3 separate regions of the Homo sapiens genome follow, and all the other regions are linked to region 1. The links are contacts of gene promoters, found by promoter capture Hi-C in human tissues and cell types (Jung and others, 2019). All regions are on one chromosome and are shown on one strand. The core of a region is centred on a gene start or on the middle of the fragment in contact, and the rest is flanking DNA. Distances in the headings are between cores, read along the strand shown. Region 1 holds the start of DHRS2 (dehydrogenase/reductase 2). Region 2 has its middle 21 kb from the start of DHRS4L2. Region 3 has its middle 11 kb from the start of CARMIL3.

The links. The method cuts DNA at HindIII sites, captures the fragments that hold promoters and counts their contacts. A contact is called where the count stands out against the background at its distance.
Region 2: a contact is called between a fragment that was not itself captured here and the fragment with the promoter of DHRS2 in region 1, in 4 of the 25 tissues and cell types used here (bladder, dorsolateral prefrontal cortex, lymphoblastoid cells and 1 more).
Region 3: a fragment that was not itself captured here is called in contact with the fragment with the promoter of DHRS2 in region 1 in 3 of the 25 tissues and cell types used here (bladder, dorsolateral prefrontal cortex and liver).

The regions. Positions count from the first base shown.
Region 1 is chr14:23,634,933-23,637,809 of GRCh38, forward strand. DHRS2 (dehydrogenase/reductase 2) reads left to right here and starts at 1,432. Exons shown (of 9, transcript NM_005794.4): 1 at 1,432-1,840. The HindIII fragment of the contact is 10,677 bases long and covers 1-2,877 here.
Region 2 is chr14:24,008,248-24,011,134 of GRCh38, forward strand. It overlaps the pseudogene DHRS4L1. Among named protein-coding and RNA genes, the nearest start is that of DHRS4L2, 21 kb to the left of the region's middle. The HindIII fragment of the contact is 5,422 bases long and covers 1-2,887 here.
Region 3 is chr14:24,039,170-24,042,232 of GRCh38, forward strand. It overlaps the pseudogene DHRS4L1. Among named protein-coding and RNA genes, the nearest start is that of CARMIL3, 11 kb to the right of the region's middle. The HindIII fragment of the contact is 6,357 bases long and covers 1-3,063 here.

The sequences.
Region 1 (2,877 bases), core at 182-2,681:
TCTGCCTGCTTCATTTCACCTTCTGCCTTAATTGTAAGTTTCCTGAGGCCTTCCCAGCCATGCTTCCTGTACAGCCTGTGGAATTGTGAGTCAATTAAACCTCTTTTCTTTATAAATTACCCAGTCTCAGGTAGTTCTTTTTTTTTTTGAGACAGGGTCTTGCTCTCTCTCCCAGGCTGGAGTACGGTGGTGCAATCTCAGCCTACCACAGCCTTGACCTCCTGGGCTCAAGCAATCGTCCCATCTTAGTCTCCCGAGTAGCTGTGACTACAGGCATGCACCACCACACCCAGCTAATTTTTATAGAGACATGGTTTCACCTTGTTGCCCAGGCTGGTCTCAAACTCCTGAGCTCAAGGGATCTGCCCACCTTGGCCTTCCAAAGTACTGGGATTACAGGTGTGAGCTACCGTGCCTGGCCTCAGTTAGTTCTTTATAGCAGTGTGAAAACAAACTAATACAGACTTGTTTCCAGTTTGGAACATTCTAAGCAGGCTTCTCTGAACCTGTGTGTACAGTCTCTTGGTGCACACATGACCTCCTGTCTGCAGGATGCAAGTTCCCTCTACAGAGTCAGAGATCTTTATTTTCAACTTCTCCGTATAATGCCAAATCATTTCCCAAAGTGATTGTACTTACCCTCTACCCAGCAGTGAATGAGAGTTTCTGTTGATTTTGCTTTTTCAACTAGAAGTGAGAGGTGACAATATGCTAGCAGCCCTTGCTCACTCTTGGTGCCTCCTCGTCCTCCACATCCACTCTGGCTGCACTTGAGGAGCCCTTCAGCCCACCACTGCACTGTGGGGGCCCCTCTCTGGGGCTGGCCAAGGCCGAAGCCAGCTCCCTCTGCTCGCCAGGAGGTGTGGAGGGAGAGGCGCCGGCAGGAGCCCACACTGTACAGGGCACTCACCGGCCAGCAGGGGCTCCGTGGGCCGGCCGGTGCCAGCTGGGCCTGACTGGGGGATGAGCTCCCTCTGGGCTGCTGGAGTGCCTGGGCTAGGTGCCGCAAAGTCCTGCAGTGTGTGCCATTGAGAGGTGAAGCCGGCTGGGCTTCTGGGTCCGGTGGGGACCTGGAGAACTTTTCTGTCTAGCTAAAGGTTTGTAAATGCACCCATCAGCACTCTGTGTCTAGCTAAAGGTTTGTAAATGCACCAATCAGCAATCTGTGTCTAGCCAATCTGGTGGGGACTTGGAGAACTTTTGTGTCTAGCTAAAGGATTGTAAATGCACCAATCAGCACTCTGTGTCTAGCTAAAGGTTTGTAAATGCACCAATCAGCACTCTGTCAAAACGGACCAATCAGCTCTCTGTAAAACAGACCAATCAGCTCTCTGTAAAATGGACCAATCAGCTCTCCATAAAATGGACCAATCAGCAGGATGTGGGTGTGGCCAGTTAAGGGAATAAAAGCAGGCTGCCTGAGCCGGCAGCAGCAACCTGCTCTGGTTCCCTTCCACGCTGTGGAAGCTTTGTTCTTTTGGTCTTCATGATAAATCTTGCTGCTGCTCACTCGTTGGGTCCGTGCCACCTTTAAGAGCTGTAACACTCACCGCGAAGGTCTGCAACTTCACTCCTGGGGCCAGCAAGACCACGAATGCACCGAGAGGAATGAACAACTCTGGACACACCATCTTTAAGAACCGTAATACTCACCGCAAGGGTCTGCAACTTCATTCTTGAAGTCAGTGAGGCCAAGAACCCATCAATTCCGTACACATTTTGGTGACTTTGAAGAGACTGTCACCTATCACCAAGTGGTGAGACTATTGCCAAGCAGTGAGACTATTGCCAAGTGGTGAGACCATCACCAAGCGGTGAGACTATCACCTATCGCCAAGTGGTGAGTACCATCAGATCCCTTTCATTTGCTATTCTGTCCTATTTTTCCTTAGAATTCGGTGGCTAAATTCTGGGCACCTGTCGGCCAGTTAAAAGTGACTAGCGCAGCCGCTGGACTAAAAACGTGGGTGTCAGGCTTTCTGGGAAAGGGATCTCTAACAACCCCTGGCTCTGTGGAGTTGGGAATGTTGTTTTGCCTGGAACCAGCTTCCGCTTTTCCTGTACTTCTGGGCTGAGCTGAGGGTCAACAGAGAGGAAAGCCATTCAGCTCCGGAGTCCCCACAACAAGTTGGTTGACCCTGCGGCCATGAGCGGAACTCTCAAAGGCATGTTGCCCAAGTGAGACTCACCTATCTATCCTATCTATCCTGACCCTTGCTCGCTGGGTCCTAATGCCTGCCAGACAAACTTTCTCTCTCCTCTCTTCTCCTAGGCTAGTCCCACTTCTAAAAAACCACTCCCTGTCTCTGGTGCTTTTCTAATTTCTCTTATAAGAATGATTTCTAGTAAAAATTTCAGGACTCTGTTACCTTCTTTAGGCACCTGGGCTCACCAATCAGAAAGACATAATTTTTGCCCAAAGCCCAGTTGTAGGGGGAACTATCTGGAATTTTAGAATCCCTCCTCAGATAAGCAGGTCTAACAAAAGCTATTCCTGAAGCTAGGATAGGGGGAGCCTCAGAAATTGTATCCTTCCTATTCATATAAGTGAGGACAAAAGGTGTCACTTTTCCAACCCTGGAGACCCCTTCCCTCCCTCAGGTTACTCTTCTTCATTTTTGGGGCATAACATCTTTATAGGACACGGGTAAGTTCCCAATACTAACAGGAGAATGCTTAGGACTCTAACAGGTTTTCGAGAATGCGTCGGTAAGGGCCACTAAATCCGATTTTTCTCGGTCCTCCTCATGGTCTAGGAGGACAAGCAAGGGTGCAGCACTCTATGTCTAGCTAATCAGGTGGGGACTTGGAGAACTTTTGTGTCTAGCGAAAGGATTGTAAATGCACCAATCAGCACTCTGTGTCTAGCTAAAGGTT
Region 2 (2,887 bases), core at 39-2,538, 370 kb after region 1:
AGGGAACAAAACTGGATGGAGAATAAGTTTGATGACTTGACAGACGTAAGCTTCAGAAGGTCAGTAATAACAAACTACACCCAGCTAAAGGAGCATGTTCTAACCCATTGCAAGGAAGCTAAAAACCTTGACAAAATGTTAAACGAATGGCTAACTAGAATGAAGAATCTAGAGAAGAGCTTAAATGACCTGATGGAGCTGATAACCACAGTACAAGAACTTCATGAAGGATACACAAGCTTCAATAGCTGATTCAATCAAGTGGAAGAAAGGATATCAGTGATTGAATATAAAATTAATGAAATAAAGTGAGAACACAAGATTAGAGACAAGAAAAGAAAAAAGAAACATTCAAATTCAGGAAATACAGAGAACATCACAAAGACACTCCTTGAGAAGAGCAACCCCAAGACACATAATTGTCAGATTCAGCAAGGTTAAGGGCAGCCAGAGAGAAAGGTTGGGTTACCAACAAAGGGAAGCCCATCAGACTAACAGCAGATCTCTCAGCAGAAACCATACAAACCAGAAGAGAGTCGGGACCAATATTCAACATTCTGAAAGAAAAGATTTTTGGAACTAGAATTTCATATCCAGCCAAACTAAGCTTCGTAAGTGAAGGAGAAATAAAATCCTTTACAGACAAGCAGATGCTGAGAGAGTTTGTCACCACCAGGCCTGCCTTACAATAAGAGCTCCTGAAGGAAGCACTAAACATGGAAAGGAACAACCAGTACCAGCCACTGCAAAAACATACGAAATTGTAAAGACCATTGATGCTATGAAGAAACTGCATCAATTAATGGGCAAAATAACCAGCTAACGTCATGACAGGATCAAATTCACATATAACAATACTAACCTTCAATGTAAATGGGATAAATGCCCCAATTAAAAGACACTGACTGGCAAATTGGATAAAGAATCAAGACCCATATGGTGTGCTGTATTCAGGAGACCCAATCTCACGTGCAAAGACACACATAGGCTCAAAATGAAGGTGTGTCTGGAATTGGTGGGTTCTTGGTCTCACTGACTTCAAGAATGAAGCCACGGACCCTCGCAGTGAGTGTTACAGTCCTTAAAGGCAGCGTGTCCGGAGTTTGTTCCTTCTGATGTTCAGACACGTTCAGAGTTTTTTCCTTCTGGTGGGTTCGTGGTCTCGCTGGCTTCAGGAGTGAAGCTGCGGACCTTCACAGTGAGTGTTACAGCTCTTAAGGCGGCATGTCTGGAGTTGTTCGTTCCTCCCATCCGGAGTTGTTCATTCCTCCCACTGGGTTCGTGGCCTCACTGGCCTCAGGAGTGAAGCTGCAGACCTTCACGATGAGTGTTACAGCTCATAAAGGCCGTGTGGACCCAAAGAGTGAGGGGCAGCAAGATTTATTGCAAAGAGCGAAAGAACAAAGCTTCCACAGTGTGGAAGGGGACCCAAGCAGGTTGCTACTGTTTGAAGGGGTGGCTTGCCCCTCCACACCTGTGGGTATTTCTAGTCAGGTGGGACGAGAGACTGAGAAAGAGAAATAAGACACAGAGACAAAGTATAGAGAAACAACAGTGAGCCCAGGGGACCGGCGCTCAGCATACCAAGGACTTGCACCGGCACCGGTCTCTGAGTTCCCTCAGTTTTTATTGATTATTATCGTCATTATTTCAGTAAAAAGGAATGTAGTAGGAGGGCAGGGTGATAATAAGGAGAAGGTCAGCAACAAACGTGAGCAATAGAATCTAATAATTCAGTTCAAGGGAAGGTACTATGACTGGACATGCACGTAAGCCAGATTTATGTTTCTCTCCACCCAAACATCTCGGTGGAGTAAAGAATAACGAGGCAGCATTGCTGCAAACATGTCTCGCCTCCCACCATAGGGCGGTTTTTCTCTCATCTCAGAACTGAACAAATGTACAATCGGGATTTATACCGAGACTTTTAGTTCCCAGGAGCAGGCAGGAGACAGTGGCCTTCCTCTATCTCAACTGCAAGAGGCCTTCCTTTTTTACTAACCCACCGCAGCACAGACCCTTTATGGGTGTCGGGCTGGGGGACAGTCAGGTCTTTCTCATCCCAGGAGGCCATATTTCAGACTATCACATGGGGAGAAACCTTGGACAATACCCTGCTTTCAAGGGCAGAGGTCCCTGCGGCTTTCTGCAGTGCACTGTGCCCCTGGTTTATTGAGACTAGAGAATGGCGATGACTTTTACCAAGTATACTGCTTGTAAACATTTTGTTAACAAGGCACGTCCTACACAGTCCTAGATCCCTTAAACCTTGATTTCATACAACACATGTTCTTGTGAGCTCCAGGTTGGGTCAAAGTGGTTGGGTCAAAGTGGCTGGGGCAAAGCTAAAAATTAACAACATCTCAGAAAAGCAATTATTTAAAGTACAGGTCTTTTTCAAAATGTAGTCTCTTATGTCTTCCCTTTCTACATAGACACGGTAACAGTCTGATCTCTCTTTCTTTTCCCTACATATCCCCCTTTTCTTTTTGACAAAACTGTCATTGTCACCATGGCCTGTTTTTGCTGGTCACTGTCTTTCTGGAACTGCTGGATACACCTGTAGACTAACAATAGAGAGGGCAGACATACAAGGATTAATACAAAATTTGCAATAGTGGAATTTCCAATGGTTTTAACCCAAGTGATGGGGGCAAGAGGACAGTGTGGGTGCTCCGGCACCCAGGCAGTCTCCCTTCTCCTTTGTCTCTTAGTTGTTGTTTCTCATAGTTTTCAATCTTTCTCCTCACCTGCTCACTCGCACTTTTTGTTTCATTGTCTCCCTTCTCTTATGGTCTCTCTCTCTTTTTCTCTTTTTCTTCCTTTTACACTATTTCTTTTCCCAGTCTCACTTTCTGTGTCTCTCTCTGATCTCTGTCTTTCTCTT
Region 3 (3,063 bases), core at 493-2,992, 400 kb after region 1:
TAAACCTTAAGGAATGGATGGGAATGGACAGATGGAATAGTGACGAGGTTCCAGATAACTCTGCAAAATGAGCAGACAGCCAAGGAGGAACTGAAGGAAAGAGAGGAGCACTGTCAGGCCACAATGGAGAGCACAGGCTCAGGAGTACTGCTGGGGAAGGGGCTGCATTGGAAAGATAGAGGCCATGGGCCTCCATATCTTTTTTTTTTTTTTTTTTTTTTTTTTTTTTTTTTTTTTGTGACGGAGTTTCACTCTTGTCGCCTAGGCTGGAGTACAGTGGCACCATCTCGGCTTACTGCAACCTCTGCCTCCCAGGTTCAAGCAATTCTCCTGCCTCAGCCTCCTGAGTAGCTGGGATTACAGGTGCCCACCACCATGCCCAGCTAATTTTTGTATTTTTAGTAGAGACGGGGTTTCACCATGTTGGCCAGGCTGGTCTTGAACTCCTGACCTCAGGTGATCCACCCACTCAGCCTCCCAAAGTGCTGGGATTACAGGCGTGAGCCACTGCGCCCGGCCATAGCTTCTTAAAAGGATACGTTAAGGACCTTAAAAGGATATAGCCTCTTAAAAGGATATGTTTACACACTCTTGTAGCAAATAAGAAGCCATGTGAGGTTTTGAGCAAGAGAAAGATGGTTATTAGGAAAGCTAATCTGGCTCTGGTAGGAAGGATATACAGAGGAGACACCAAATCCAGGGCATCAGTGAGGAAGCTGTTGCTGTCGTCCAGGTTTAGAGCAGTGGCGGTGGGACTGGAATAGATGTGCCCAAGAGACATTCAGTGGAAACGAACCAAGATTTTCCAACCCCATGTCAAAAAGTGGGAAATAGAGAAGTCAAAAATGACTCTCAGGTAGTTTGTATGACCATTGTCAGAGAGGAGAATGATAGAATACTTGTCAGCAATTTGAAATGTCTTCTGCCAGTTGTCACATGTTACCCTGCAATGAGAAAAGCCACTGCCCTGAGAATGGATACTACCCAGTGGCCTCCTCATCTGCACACCACGAAGCTTCTCACTGGTGTTGTAAGTGGAAACCAGAGTAGCTGCCTATCTGCTTGATTATATTTTTTCTTAAAAATGTATAACTATCAGAACACAGAACAAACAGCTCCTAACCACTTTAGTGTAGTGATCACACAATTTAGAACACTTAGAAGACATCTTTTTCTTTTCCCCCCAGAGACAGGGCCTCACTCTGTTGCCCAGGCTGGAGTGCAGTGGCATGATCATAGCTCACTGTAACCTCCAACTCTTGAGCTCAAGCAGTCCTCCCCCGTCAGCCTCCCAAGTGGCTAAGATTATAGGCATGCACCACCACGCCAGTTCATCTTTTAAATTTGTTGTAGAGTTGGGGCTTTATTGCCCAGGCTGGTTTTGAACTCCTGGCCTCAAGCGGTCCTCCCTACTGGCCGTACCAAAGTGCTAGGATTATAGGTGTGAGCCACCACACCCAGCCTCATTCATCTTTTATGGTTTGCTGTCTCTGTTCATTCAAAACCCAGCCTCCTCCCATCTCTGTGCTGACAGACCTGGAAGTAGAGGGGCATGGGGTATGCAGCAGAGTAGAAAATGTCTCCAGGTGATTCTGGAGCAATCCACTGTCTTCTCCCAGCCCAAACACACGTGCACTGAGCACAGCACACATCACTTATTAACTTATTCTGCACCTCCCTAGTAACAAGTACATTGGTGAGACTTACACAGAGCCAAGGCAGGTGACTTGGCTTTGTGCCAGGATACCAAAATTTAAAGGGTGCAAGAAAGTATTCATACTGGTTTTAAAAGAGTACTTGACTTTAAATTTTGTTAGATTTACACGTTGACAGCCCAGGCATTTCTTCAACTGTGTTGAAGGTTAGCACCTAGTTAACAAGAATAATTAGTTAAAATGGGAAGCTAGCAGATGGTGTACATTGTTAATAACACCCCTCCGTGGGCCAAATCCGGAGCACAAAATTGACCAAGGGCCCATGTACTGCTACTTGCCCAAGGCATCAAAATTGCCAGTTCCAGGCAAATGCAAAGTCTGGTTTCAGGGTGGCTTTGTACTGAAAACCCTTGTTGGCAGATTCTGCTTGGCCATTCATTACTCTAGCACATGCCTCACTACCTACTTATAACTTATTAAGGAGGTGAGATGTTGCCTTTCTTGGCTTTCTCAGTTTAAATTTCCCTTTCTGCCTTGAATCTTTCATGCCTCCAGGTCAAAAGAGAGAGACAGAGACAGGGAAAATGACATCATAACCAAATATGGAATTGCTTTAAATTCAGGCTGGTATCTTCTCCCATCATGGCTCTCCTGGGCAGCCGGTTTCCTAATGACCCCAGCTCACTTTCAGAGGGCTCTTACGAATTAGCTCTGTGCTACAAAGTGGGAGACTGACCTCAGTTCTTCCACCACTAACTAGCTTTATGCCCTGAACAAATCACTTTCCCCAACACGGAATAAGCAGGCCTCCTGTTCTTAGCTAGCCCCAGTGTGTTACTACTGAACTATATGATCTTGAGAAAATTCCCTGAACCTGTTTCATCATCTCCACCTTAAGGACATTGGAATAGATGATCTCAAAGGCCCCTCCAGGGTAACTTTCTACAGCTCTATTTAAGCCAGTTTTTCCATTCAGGTAAGTGTGGCCAGATTGACTTTGAAATAATGGTAACTTATTCAAGAAGAACTGGACAGTAAGCACTTGGAGAAATGTGGGTGGAACTCAGTGTGAAAGGAAGAGGAGGGGTCTGGAAATAGATTTTGGGGTGAGATTTGAAATCACGAGAATGAAGGAGCTCCCAAATGGGAAAATGTAAAGAAAAGAGCATAGGGTCAGAGACAGCCTTAGAAGAATAGGAGGTGGGAAGAAAACACTGCAAAAGAAATAAGGCCAACTTCCTGGTGGCTCACACCTGTAACACTTTGAGAGGCCGAGGCAGGCGGATGGCTTTAGCTCAGGAGTTCCAGACCAGCCTGGGCAACATGGCAAGACCCTGTCTCTACAAAAAGTACAAAAATTGCCCAGGTGTGATGGCACGCACCTGTATTCTCAGCTACTTGGGGGGCT